Regions from separate parts of the Homo sapiens genome. Here region 1 is linked to region 2. Evidence: promoter capture Hi-C in human tissues and cell types (Jung and others, 2019). All regions are on one chromosome and are shown on one strand. Each heading gives the region's core, a stretch centred on a gene start or on the middle of the fragment in contact. The rest is flanking DNA. Distances are from core to core; before and after follow the strand shown.

Evidence for each region. The method cuts DNA at HindIII sites, captures the fragments that hold promoters and counts their contacts. A contact is called where the count stands out against the background at its distance.
Region 1: a fragment that was not itself captured here is called in contact with the fragment with the promoter of TNP2 in region 2 in 1 of the 25 tissues and cell types used here (lymphoblastoid cells).

The regions. Positions count from the first base shown.
Region 1 is chr16:10,506,919-10,513,666 of GRCh38, forward strand. No RefSeq gene overlaps it. Among named protein-coding and RNA genes, the nearest start is that of LINC01290, 18 kb to the right of the region's middle. RefSeq lists an enhancer at 2,901-2,990. The HindIII fragment of the contact is 4,790 bases long and covers 1-4,782 here.
Region 2 is chr16:11,265,487-11,272,013 of GRCh38, forward strand. It overlaps TNP2 (transition protein 2), which reads right to left and starts at 3,839. Exons shown (of 2, transcript NM_005425.5): 1 at 3,377-3,839; 2 at 2,371-2,526. The coding sequence starts at 3,776. The coding sequence ends at 2,510. The region is part of intron 1 of LOC105371082 (a long non-coding RNA gene); the gene reads left to right. RefSeq lists an enhancer at 540-1,040. The HindIII fragment of the contact is 5,287 bases long and covers 990-6,276 here.

The sequences.
Region 1 (6,748 bases), core at 1,138-3,637, 760 kb before region 2:
CGGTCTCCCAAAGTGCTGGGATTACAGGCGTGAGCCACCATGCCCGGCCAACAATTTTCAACTCGTGTCAACCTTGTGTCATCTAAACCCTGTATACCTTCTCAGCTCCCATCAGGCACTGAATTATTATGATGCAGATCTGTGATATGTCATTTTATTCATAATGTTTTAATATCAACATACATTCAAAACCTTTTTTCCCAACAAAGTCTAATCCATATCTCTGACATCCTTCCAATCAAGAAAAGGATCTTACAAGAAAATGCCTTAACTACAGGTTGCCTACCCCAGATAAACACCTACTGCCTGATTGATTGATTGAGACAGAGTTTTCCGCTCTTGTTGCCCAGGCTGGAGTGCAGTGGTGCAATCTTGGCTCACTGCAACCTCTGCCTCCCGGGTTCAAGCAATTCTCCTGCCTCAGCCTCCTGCACAGCTTGGATTACAGGCATGTGTCACCATGCCCAGCTAATTTTTTGTATTTAGTAGAGACGGGATTTTACCATGTTGGTCAGGCTGGTCTCGAACTCTTGACCTCAGGTAATCCACCCGCCTCAGCCTCCCAAAGTGCTGGGATTACAGGTGTGAGCCACTGCACCCAGCCTATTTGTTATTTTTATCAATAAGTTTAGACCCATCTTTTAAAAGCAAAAAGAGCTCATTACGGCTGTTTCCAGTCAATAATTGTTTAATTTACTGGCATTTTTATCATATTTCTGTATTCACCATTTTTCTTGCATCCCACACTTTTTCTTTCAATGAGGGGCTATAGGTGTTAAATTCTCTGATTGTGGGTGTATCTGATATATCTTTATTCCACCCTCAATCTCGAACTATGGTTCCAGGAATTGCCAGATTCTACTCATTAATGGATATTTAACAAATTCTGCAATATTCTCTTTACCATCAGCCTTGGCTCCAAACTGCTTTAACTTGGAAAGATATCCAGTCTCTTTACCCTCACTTCTTCCAAACTTCCACAATTCTCTTGCTCTCTTTCCTTAGAGAAGTGCAAGAACTCAATGCAGAACCTATCAATGTATAGACTTTAAGATGAGGTGGCACAGAAGAACAATAAGGGGGGATAGGTTCACATTAAATACAGATAAGTAAAGCTTAAGCAGGATTTTTGGAAAACAGAGACAATGCTAGAGTAACAGGTTTAGTTGCCAAAGGATTTCTCTCTACCCATCTCAGCAAGAGAGAATCAGGTCTCCTGAGATTAATTGGTTTTATTTAATTAATTTATTTTTTAAGATGGAGTCTCAGTCTGTCACCCAGGCTGGAGTGCAGTGGTGCGATCTCGGCTCACTGCAATCTCCGCCTCCCAGGTTCAGGTGATCCTGCCTTAGCCTCCCGAGTAGCTGGGACTACAGGCACACACACCACCAAACCTGGCTAATTTTTGTATTTTTTTAGTGGAGTCGGGGTTTCACCATGTTGTCCAGGCTCCTCTTGAACTCCTGACCTCAAGTGATCTGCTTGCCTCCGCCTCCCCTGAGTGCTGGGATTACAGGTGTGAGCCACCGTGCTTAATAAGTTTTAACTAAGTATTCCAGGCACAAAAAGTAGAGAGAGAAAGAGATAACAGTCAAATTAATCACCTCTAATTCTGAAATTCACACCTGATCTAGCTCTCATAGAGAAATGCTGGTCCTCAACCCTGGTCACATATCAGAATCATCTGGGAAATATTTAAAACACAAAAATGTTTTGAACAAATTCAATAATAAATCTCTGTAACTATAGGCCTCATGGAACCTATCACTTCTTCCTTTTGCTATTTTAATAAAAGATCTCAGTTTTAGAAACAATTCAGGGGTCGATTTTGGCTGTATTTGGACATTCCAAAAGTTAAAGTAATTGGTCTAGGGACATCTGAATAAGGACATCCTTTTATATTATAAAAGAACATTCTTTGGTAGTATAAGGACATCCTTGTATAATCTACCTAGGATATTCATTCAGTAATGAAGAATTTTTGACTTTTGGCCTGGCCTGTGCTAGAGTTGACCACCTTAAACTGTTAACAAAATGCAGATCCCATCAGTGAAGGTCCTGTGACAGCAAGCAAGTGTGTCGGGGGAATAACTTGCAGGAAAGATACAGGTTGATTCACAGAAAGAAAAGAATATCAGATTTTCTTTGTGATGCTCCCACTGGAATGACTTAATATGCCAATCTTTGAAACAATAATTGTGCTAGGGAAGGGGCTAAAGTGATTAACATTCCCAACTACCCCAAAGTAAGGAAAGAAATGCAAAACAGGCAAAATTAACAGGTGTGTATGCCGGGCACGGTGGCTCATGCCTGTAATCCCAGCACTTTGGGAGGCCGAAGTGGGTGGATCACCTGAGATTGGGAGTTCGAGACCAGCCTGACCAACATGGAGAAACCCCATCTCTACTAAAAAATGCAAAATTACCTGGGCGTGGTGGCACATACCTGTAATCCCAGCTACTCCGGAGGCTGAGGCAGGAGAATCACTTGAACCCAGGAGGTGGAGGTTGCAGTGAGCCGAGATCGCACCATTGCACTCCAGCCGTGGTAACAAGAGCGTAACTCCCTCTCAAAAATAAAACAAACAAACAAACAAAAAACAGGTAGTGCTATGTAAATGCTTAAACAGTTGGGGTAAGTTATTGCCACACTAGGCTGGCTGGTGGACTGATCCGGTAATTCTCCCTATTAAGTGACATGTTACTGAATAGGCCAGAGCAAAGGTGATTTGGCATCCTCTGTCGTTATTTGCAAACTTGGATCTCAATTCAGGAGCTAAGACCATGTACTTGGGTCAGGCAGCAAGCATGAGCCCGCCTGACTCTAAGTTCTTGGCTGCCACCTGGTGGTAATGTTGAAGGAACACACCACTCCCATCAACAGATTAATGTGGATGGAAGGGACTCCACTCAATACTTCATCTGGTTGCTGAGACAGGAACTGAAAATATAAACGATGATTTTTAAGGGGCACTGCTCTACAAATATGTGTAGTTCCCTTGCTAATGAAGAAAGAGAAACCCTACTCCATCATCAAGAGGCGTCCTCTGGGCCCTTCCAGCATTTATCTACATCCCGTGTGCAGCTGGTTGAACTGGGTCCCCCACCCCAAGAGATGTCTTCATCCTAGAATCTGTGAATGTGACCTTATTTGGAAAAAAGGATCGGCCAGGCACGGTGGCTCATGCCTGCTGTAATCACAGCATTTTGGGAGGCCAAGGCAGGAGGATTGCTTGTGCCCAGGAGTTTGAGACCAGCAATATAGCGAGACTCCATTTCTAAAAAAAAAATAAAAATTAGCCAGGCATGGTGGCCCACACCTGTAGTCCCAGCTACTCAGGAGGCTGAGTTGGGAGGATCACCTAAGTCCAGGAGATTGAGGCTCCATGAGCTATGATCATACCACACTGTACTCCAGCCTGGGCGACAGAGTGAGACTCTGTCTTAAAAAAGAAGAGGGGAGGGGAGGGGAGGGAAGGAGAGGGGAAGGGAGGGAAGGGGAGGAAGGGGAGGGGAGGGGATCTTCGCAGATGTGATTAAGAATCTCCAGATGAGATCATCTTGGATGATCTCAGCCCAAATTAAATGACAAGTGTCCTGATAAGAGACACACAGAGATGAGAGAGAGAAGAAATGCAATGTGAAGACAGAGGTGGAGATTGGAACAATGCAGCCAAAAGCCAGGGAATGCCTGGAGCCACCAGGAGCTAGAAGAAGCAAGGATGAGTTCTCCATGAGGGCCTCCAGAGGGGGCATAGTCCTGTGGACACTTCAGCCTCCAGAATGGCAAGAAAAATAATTTCTGTTGTGTTAAGTCACCAAGTTTATAGTATTTTTTTTTTTTTTTGAGATAGAGTCTCACTCTGTTGCCCAGGCTAGAGTACAGTGGTGCGATCTCGGCTCACTCCAACCTCTGCCTCCCGGGTTCAAGTGATTCTCCTGCCTCAGCCTCCCGAGTAACTGAAATTACAGGTGTGTGCCACCATGCTTGGCTAATTTTTGTATTTTTAGTAGAGGCGGGGTTTTGCCATGTTGGCCAGGCTGGTCTCGAATTCCTGACCTCAAGTCAACCACCCACCTCAGCCTCCCAAAGTGCTGGGATTACAGGCATGAGCCACCACGCTTGGCCATTTATAGTAATTTGTTATAGCAGCCCTAGCCTGACTAATACATTCCCTCTCCACTGGGAGCCATGGTTTGTTCAAAGAAATGATACCAGGCCCTCACCCCACATGCCATGGAGGTGGGTTCCCCTGCATACTCTTAGACACCCACATTTGCTGGGAGACATTTTACCCATCAATAACGAAGCTGCAAAGCCCTCCATCAATCCCGTCAAGAGCTCTTACCTCAATCAGATGTGCCCAGCATCATGAAAGCAGAGAGGCCTTATCCTGAATTGTCAGATGGCAGTCAAGGTTGCAAAAGCAGAGACAGACTAACGATCTTACATATTACCCATGACCACAAATCCAGGATGACAGACTGGAAGAACTGAACTGAACGTAGAGAGAAAAAAGAGGACGGGTGCGGTGGCTCATGCCTGTAATCCCAACACTTTGGGAGGTGGAGGCGGGTGGATCATTTGAGGTCAGGAGTGTGAGACCAGCCTGGCCAACATGGTGAAACCCTGTCTCTACTAAAAATTCAAAAATTAGCTGGGTGTGCTGGCGGTTGCCTGTAAGGAGCCTGAGGCAGGAGAATTACTTGAACCTAGGAGGCAGAGGTTGCAGTGAGCACTCCAGCCTAGGCGATACAGCAAGAGTCCATCTCAAAAAAAAAAAGAGACAGAGAAAGAGCCGTATAAGGAAGACAAATATAATCCTTGCAGTTCCTGCCTTTCACCCTCTTGAGACTTTGGGAGGAGGGGTGTGTATCTACCTTGATTTTCTATTGGTGTTGAAGGGGATCAGAATACATTACCCCAGAAGAGGCCACTTCGGCATAAGGATTATTTTGAGCTGAGGGCAACTGAGAAACTGCAGACAAAAAGAGCTCTCTACCCACTCCCTTTCTGCCTAAAAGCAGGGAAATTCCCCATGTAAAGATGTTTCTCTATACCAAGGCAGGGTGACTGGCACAGAGATGAGTTGGCATGACAAACATTACTAAACAACCCTTACCCACCACTTCCTAGTCATCTTTCCACAACTTACCAGCCCTAGGAACCCAAACTCTCCCTCCCTCCCTCTCTCTTTCTCAGATTCTCTGTCACCTAGGCTAGAGTGCAGTGACACAATCATGGCTCACTGCAGCCTCCAACTCTTGGGCTCAAGAGATCCCCCCACTTCAGCCTCCTGAGTATCTGCAACTACAGGCACACACCACCACTCCTGGGTAATTTTTTTTTAAAAATTGCTTTTTTTGATCATGCACAGTGGCTCATGCCTCTAATCCCAGCACTTTGGGAGGCCAAGGCAGGCAGATCACCTGAGGTCAGGAGTTCGAGACCAGCCTGGCCAACATGGTAAAACTCAGTCTCTACTAAAAATACAAAAAATTAGCCAGGCGTGGTGGCTTGTGCCTGTAGTTCCAGCTACTTGGGAGGCAGAGGCAGGAGAATTGCTTGAATCCAGAAGGCGGAGGTTGCAGTGAACCAAGATCATGCCATTGCACTCCAGCCTGGGTGACAGGGTAAGACTCCATCTCAAAAAAAAAAAAAAGGAAAATGGTATATAAGCCCCCAAGTCTAACCACTGCTTTGCATTTTTGCTCCTTTTATGTGAAGCCCCATGCATGTAAAAATATTAAAATTTGTATGTCTTTCCTCCTGTTCATCTACCTGTTGTCAGTTTAACTTACAGACTCCAGTCACAGAATCTAACAGGATAAATGAAGTTTTTCCTCTCCTGCAATTGAACTACGAGTGGTGGGACTGTGTCGGGGGAAGAACCCTCTCTACTGGAATCCAAACATCCAAACACACAGGCAAAGTCTAAAAAGACAGTAACCACAGGAGTTATGACAGATTTGCTACTTAGATAGTGGGAAAGGACAAAAATTAATTAAAATACAAATACTGGTCAACAAGCAAGGCCCTTTCATATAAACAATGAAATAACCATCCATTCTATACCAGGATACAATATTTTTCTGAAGTCTCTTTGAAAGAAACAATTTCCCATAATTTTGATACTAGGGTATGTGGGTGGTTTGTGGGGTGGGCAACCATTTGTCAATGCCATTAAGTTATTTATTTATTTTTTTCAGATGGAGTCTCACTCTGTCGCCCAGGCTGGAATGCAGTGGCACGATCTTGGCTCACTGCAACCGCCACCTCCCAGGTTCGAGCGATTCTCATGCCTCAGGCTCCTGAGTAGCTGGGACTACAGGCACATGCCACCATGCCTGGCTAATTTTTGTACTTTTTCAGTAGAGACAGGGTTTTACCATGTTGGCCAGGCTAGTGTCGAACTCCTGACCTCAAGTGATCCATCCACTTCAGCTTCCCAAAGTGCTGGTTTTACAGGCATGAGCCACCGCACTTGAATGAAGTAAACTTCTTTAAAGATGACAGTAAGTTTGATCTATATACTGATATCAAGGAACATATCAACAGATGCTGTGATCACTGGGGCAAGGACACACCTGGACATTCTTTTTTCTTACTCTGATGGAGGTAAATGCTGTCTGATCTATGAAAACAATCTTTCTACACCCAAGATTAAATAAAACTGTTTCTAACCCAGTTATGATTCTCTGGATTTGTGGGAACAGAATATCATAAATGCCATTGAAGAAGCTGGGAT
Region 2 (6,527 bases), core at 2,589-5,088:
TTTTGTCTGGCAGCCGGCATTCCTTCACGAAAATCTGCCTGGTACTTTTTATGCCATGTTAACAGCAGAGGTTTACTGAGTGCCAAGCACTGAGCCCAGACACCATGTCACATGCATGACACACTGACCTCTCCCAACCTCCCAGCAAGGGTGCCCATTTTGCAAATGAGAGCAGGTTTCCTACTTGGAAGCAGGGTTCTGTCTGGTTCACCCTTATCTTCCCTCCTTGGCCTTAGCCCAAAGCCCACACAAGTGGGTGCTCAGTAAATGTTTGCGAAAGAGGAATGAGGAAGGCAGGACTCTGGGCATTATCTTGGGAGGAACCTCCAGCCCACCCGTTGTGGAAAATCACCCCGCTAGACCGGGCTGCCATTCTGCCAATTGCTGTACCCTGTCCCATCCCCTGCAGTCCAGTCTCCACACAGCAGCCAGCACCACTTTGAAAACACACACCAGGTGGCCGGGCGCAGTAGCTCACGCCTGTAATCCCAGCACTTTGGGAGGCCAAGGCAGGCGGATCACAAGGTCAGGAGATCGAGACCATCCTGGCTAACACGGTGAAACCCTGTCTCTACTAAAAATACAAAAAAGTTAGCTGGGCGTGGCGGTGTGCACCTGTAGTCCCAGCTACTCGGGAGGCTGAGGCAGGAGAATGGTGTGAAGCTGGGAGGCGGAGCTTGCAGTGAGACGAGATGGCGCCACTGCACTCCAGCCTGGGCGACAGAGCAAGACTCCATCTCAGAAAAAAAAAAAGAAAAAAGAAAACACACACCAGGCTTGGTGCAGTGGCTCACGCCTGTAATCCTAACACTCTGGGAGGCCGAGGTGGGAGGATTGCTTGCGCTCAGGAGTTTTTAAGACCAGCCTGGGCAACATAGTGAGACCCCATCTCTACAAAAAGTAAAAAAATAAGCCGGGCACAGTGGCTCACGCCTGTAATTCCAGCACTTTGGGAGGCCAAGGCGGGTGGATCACTTGAGGTCAGGAGTTTGAGACCAGCCTGACCAACATGGTGAAACCTCGTCTCTACTAAAAAAATACAAAAATTGGGGTGTGGTGGGAAAGGGGAGGGAGAGCATTAGGACAAATACCTAATGCATTCAGGGCGTAAAACCTAGATGACGGGTTGTTAGGTGCAGCAAACCACCATGGCACATATATACCTGTGTAACAAACCTGCATGTTCAGCACATGTATCCCAGAACTTAAAGTAAAATGAAATAAAAATAAAAAGCAGTGACAAAACTTGCCTGCACAGTGGGGGAAAAAAATTACAAAAATTAGCCAGGTGTGGCGGGCACCTGTAATCCCGGCTACTTGGGAGGCTGAGGCAGGAGAATTGGTTGAACCCAGGAGGCAGAGGTTGCAGTGAGCTGAGATGGCGCCACTGCCCTCCAGCCTGGGCGACAGAGCGAGAAGTCAAAAATAGCTAAGCATGGTGATGCATGTCATGCTACTCGGGAACCTGAGGCGGGAGGATGGCTTGAGCCTGGGAGATCAAGGCTACAGTGAGCCATGATTGCATCACTAAACGCCAGCCTGGGTGACAGAGTGAGATGGTCTCAGAGAAAAAAGCACACACCAGACTCTATCAACTCACCCAGTTGAGACCCTCCCCTGACTTCTCACACCAAGAATAATGTCCAAGCTCCTTCCTGCGGAGATTGGTACAACCCCGGCATGGTCTGGCCCCCACCTGGTGCCCCCAGCTCATGTCCCAGCACCTTCAGATTCTATGCCAGCTCCTCTGGAACACAGGTTCTAACCCAGGCTCATTCCCTCACGGGGACATGACATCACCCTGCTCCCTTGATACAGCTCATTCTGACAAGTCTTGTGTGTTTGGACTGTAAGTTCCATGAGGGCAGGGCCTTGTGTGTTCTCTAGTTCTGTTCCCAGAGCCCAGCACAGTCCCTGAACAGACTTTGGTCCCTTAGTAAAAGTTTGTTGAAATGGCTGCTTTGAGGAACGTTGAGGTTGGTACTATGTTACAGAATCAACAAGTGAGACTCAGAGGTTGGTCACAGTCCAGGGTCACACAGCGAGTACGAAAGATGAGCCAGGATTCAAACTCAGGATGCTCTGGATTGCAAAAGGCACATTCTGAACCCCTCTTCCTGTCTCCTGTCGTGTTCTTGGGCTACATACATGTGGATCACGTGAATAGGTTGTGGACATGTGTGCATCTTGTGTGTCCACATGTGTACACACCCATGTGGGAGCATACAGGGCAAAAGATTGTTATCCAAGCAGAGTGGACTCTGCAGGCTTCTTGGCATCCTACCCCCATTCATTTCTGCCCCTGTGCAGGCCCCCAAAACACATAACACCTTTATTAGTGAAATCAAAATGACTATGACTACTCAGGGATAGTCTTCCAGGTACAAGCTTTAATTAGTGTTGCGTAGAAATCACCATAGTAACATGTTCCTGCAAGAAGATTGACTTCATCCTAGCATTTTCTCCTTTGGGTGAAACACGCAGGAACAAGCCAAGGAGTGCGGTCTCATTAGTTGGATTTCCATCCTAAGGGATAAGAGTGGGAAAGGAACCTTTAATAGCTGAGCACTTCATGAAGTCAGTGACCTCCTTGACCTCCTGTAAGGTCTTACAACTACTCATTTGTGATTGAATATGGGACATAGATAGAGTTTAGACTACCGTCAGTGTCCTTTTGACCTATGTGAATCCAGGTATCCATCCATTTATCCCTTCCATTTGTCATCCACCCATTCATTAGTTCACTCATTCCATTCATTTATTCAACATTTCTTTCCCATTCTATCCCATTAGTCTAGATATCTATTCTTCTCTCTGTTTATTCAATTACTCTATATTACTCTATTAAGATAATATTTAACCAATCAAACCAACCCATCAAAACTTCTACAACTATTTAACTCTATTTCTAACCAATTCATCCACCAACCACAATCTTCAAACTGATCATCTACCTAACCAACCAAATAACTAGCCAGCCAGTGCATTCATCCATTTATCCATCCATCCAGCTAATCGTATCCAAACTTCCTATCATTCAGCCAATGCATTCTTCCAACTATCCTTTCTATAACCTATTTATTGTTTACCCACCCAGTCATCCACCCAACCTCTCAACTCCATTCATGCTTTCATCTAGCTTATCTGCTATCTGTCCATCTTTCCATCCTCCTAATCAACCCATCCAATTTCAAAGAGACTTTCCGTCAATGTATCATACATTCAGCTAGCCAACTGCCATTGTTTCTCTTCTCCCTCTTCCTTCTTGCCTGTGGTTCCTTTGTGACCTGGCTGCAGCCTTCCTCTCACTGCCCCCAAGGTCTGCTCTCCATCATCTGTGGGCTCGGTGGCCCTTCCCCACCTCCTTAAAGGGTACCTGAGCTCCGCGTCTTGGTTTTGTACACCTGCTGGATCCTCTTGGCCATTTTTTTCTTTTTCAGCTTGCCTTCCAAGTTCTTTCTGTTCTTGGGGCAGCGGCAGTGCAGGATGGTGGGCCGCATGGGAGAGTGGTGGGAGTTCATAGTCTTTTTGTGGCGCTTTGGTGGTGGACTAGTGTTGGGACTCTGGCTCTGGTGGCCGGATGAGCTGTGGGCTCCAGTTGGGTTGCGGTGGCTGGCCGGGCTCTGGCTGGAGCTCTGGCTCCGGCTGCCACGATGGCTCTGTCTGCAACTCTGGCTGAAGGTTTGGCAATGGCGGGTGCAGGTGCGGCTTTGGGGCTGAGAGTTGCTATGGAGCTGAGTGTGGGTGATAGGAAGGCTGTGAGTCTGGGTGTCCATAGGAGGCCACGTTTGGAGGGGCAGGGCCTCCTCCTCATCCTCTCCCAGCAGGCCTAGCTTTACAGAGGCCCTGGCAGCCCACCTGGTTATATAGTTGGGGCTGATTATGATGGCCCAGGCCACAGGGGTGTGAGAGATGTGGCTCAGCCAAGACAAAGCCCCCTACCCCTTACCCTCACCCCCAGGCTGGGGCAGCTCTCAGGGGTACCCTGGGGATAGTCCCAGCTACTGGTTCAGGGTAGGAGCCCTTGGGTCAGATTAAGCTGAGTCTGCATCCCAGATCTGCTTTTTCCACATGGTCAGCCCTGGGAATTCGCCTGAACAAGTCCCAGTTTCCCCATCTCTGCAGAATAGGGATAATAATTGTACTGACCTCATTCGGACATTAGAAGAATTATTAATAAAGGAGAGAATTTATATCAAGCAGTTAGCTCAGGCCCAGCCCACAATAAGAGCTCAGTAAACATCACTGACCAGCATCATCAGGTGTTTTTCTTAACGCCCTGGGCAACTTGGGTACCAGGAGTGCAGCCCTGACCCTGGTGATGGCAGCTGAATGGTGGGCAGTTGTTAAGACAGATGATTAGTGCCCAGATGATGGGGAGGTGATGAATTGGTCAGATGGCTTGGTGGATGGATGAAAGATGAGTAACCACATGGACCAAGGGGTGGTCCTGGGGCTCGCTTGGCAAGCCTACCTCCCCAGCCAGATCTAAAGTCGGGAAATTCAGAGCCGGGTTCAAATCCCAGTTTGCACTGATGTCCAGTCTTGGGTAGGCCATTGTGGTTTCTGAGGCTTAATTGCCGTATGTGACAAAGGGGTGTCTTTCCTTCTTTCCTGGTATTCTCGTGAGCCTGAGATGCCTGTCAAGCTACAGGAGGCCCTTGGAAACCCGTCTCTCTCCTTCAGTTTCTGCCTCTTGATTCTCCTCCCCTTCCTGCTAACGAAGCCTCGCCATACCGTTTGAATCACGCCGTCCCTGCTCAGATACCCCAGTACCTCTAGAAGAAAGCCCAGACTTATGTTTGAACACTAAGCCATTTGATCTTCTAGTCTTTGGGTTTCCATCCAGAGCCCTCCACCCCTCCCTGTCTTGGCCGATGCCTTTGGGCTTAGCCCTTGGCCCTGTACTTTCCCACTTCTCTCTGCATGGAACTTCCTCTGTCTCTGTCTGTCCTCCCCGAGCAGGCCTCCGGCCCAAGCCAACCTCTCACTCTGCCCATGTGCAACTTTGCCTCTTGCTATGAGGATTTGCAATCGTCTGCTTTTATGGAAGTTTTTTTCTTTTTCTTTTTCTTTTGAGAAAGGGTTTTGCTGTGTTGCCTAGGCTAGAGTGCAGTGGCACAATTACAGCTCACTGCAGCCTCCACCTCCTGGACTCAAACGATCCTCCCACCTCAGCCTCCCAAGTAGCTGTGACTACAGGTGCATGCCACCACACCTGTCTAATTTTTTTATTTTTATTTTTGTAGAGATGGGGTCTCACTTTGTTGCTTAGGTGGGTCTTGAACTCATGAGCTCAAGGTTTTCTCCTGCTTTGGCCTCCCAAAGTGCTGGCACTACAGGCATGAGCCAATATGCCCAGCCTTTGCAGTTTATTTCTTAATAAACATTTCAAATTTCTTACAGTGAGAACTGCTTTCATTTACTGAATGCTTTCTATGTGGCTGGGCTCTGGACCTTACCCTCTCCAGGCAGCTTTGCCCTCAAACCTCACAGTGACCCTTTGTAGTGGAATGAATGGCAACCCCCAAAAATCTATGTCCACGTTATAACTCCTAGAACTTGTCAATGTGATATTTGGAAAAGGGGTCTTTGCAGATGTAATTAAGCTAAGAATCTTGAGATAAGCATGTTGGCTTAGCTGGTGGGCCCTAAATCCAATGATAAATGTCTTTATGAGAGACAGAAGAGGTGTCACCCAGGGAGAAGAGGAAACCATGGGAAGATGGAGACGAGCTTGGAGTTGTATGAGCTAGAGGAGGCAAGGAAGGATTCTCTGCTAAGGCCTCCGGAGGGAGATCAGCCCAGCTGGCACCTCGACTTCAGACTTCTGGCCTCCAGAACTGCAGAGAATACATTTCTGTTGTTTTAGCCACCAAGTTTGTGGTCATTTGGTATGGCAGCCCCAAGAAACTTATGCACCCCATGAGGCAGATACTATGATTACATTTAGCAAAGAGGGAACAGGCTCAGAGAGGTGGAGTAACCAGCCCAGAGTCCCTTAGCCGATCACGGCAGAGCCAGTCATATTCAGGTCTGGCCTCCTCTCGAGGTCACTAAGGGATTCTCGGCGATTAGAGGGACAGCTGCAGCAGGGTTCTCAGGGCCCTGCCTTGGGTGGCCTCAGCAGGTCCGGTTGTGGGGTATATGCTAGACCAAGCCGTGAAGACTCTCTGGGTCTCTGGACCCCCCTTCCCATGGTCTCCTGCTCCTCCACTGCCAACGCCCCACTTTCCCATCCTGAAGCACATAGCCTGGAATGGAGATCGTGGCCTGCCATCAACCAGCCTCTCCTCCACACACCTTTCCAGTCCTCCCAGGGAGGGCTGACCTCTCCCAGCAGCGGGTGTGCGGCACGTCACGTACCTGCCCCCGCACCCATGACAGTGAACTCTCTCCCAGGACAGCGGGGACTATGTTTTATTACCAGGGCTCCTTGTGACTAGCACCATGTGGGGCATACAACAGGGACTCAGCTCATGTTTCCTGGGCAAATGAATGGGTGGGTGGACCTTTGGGCCTTGGAC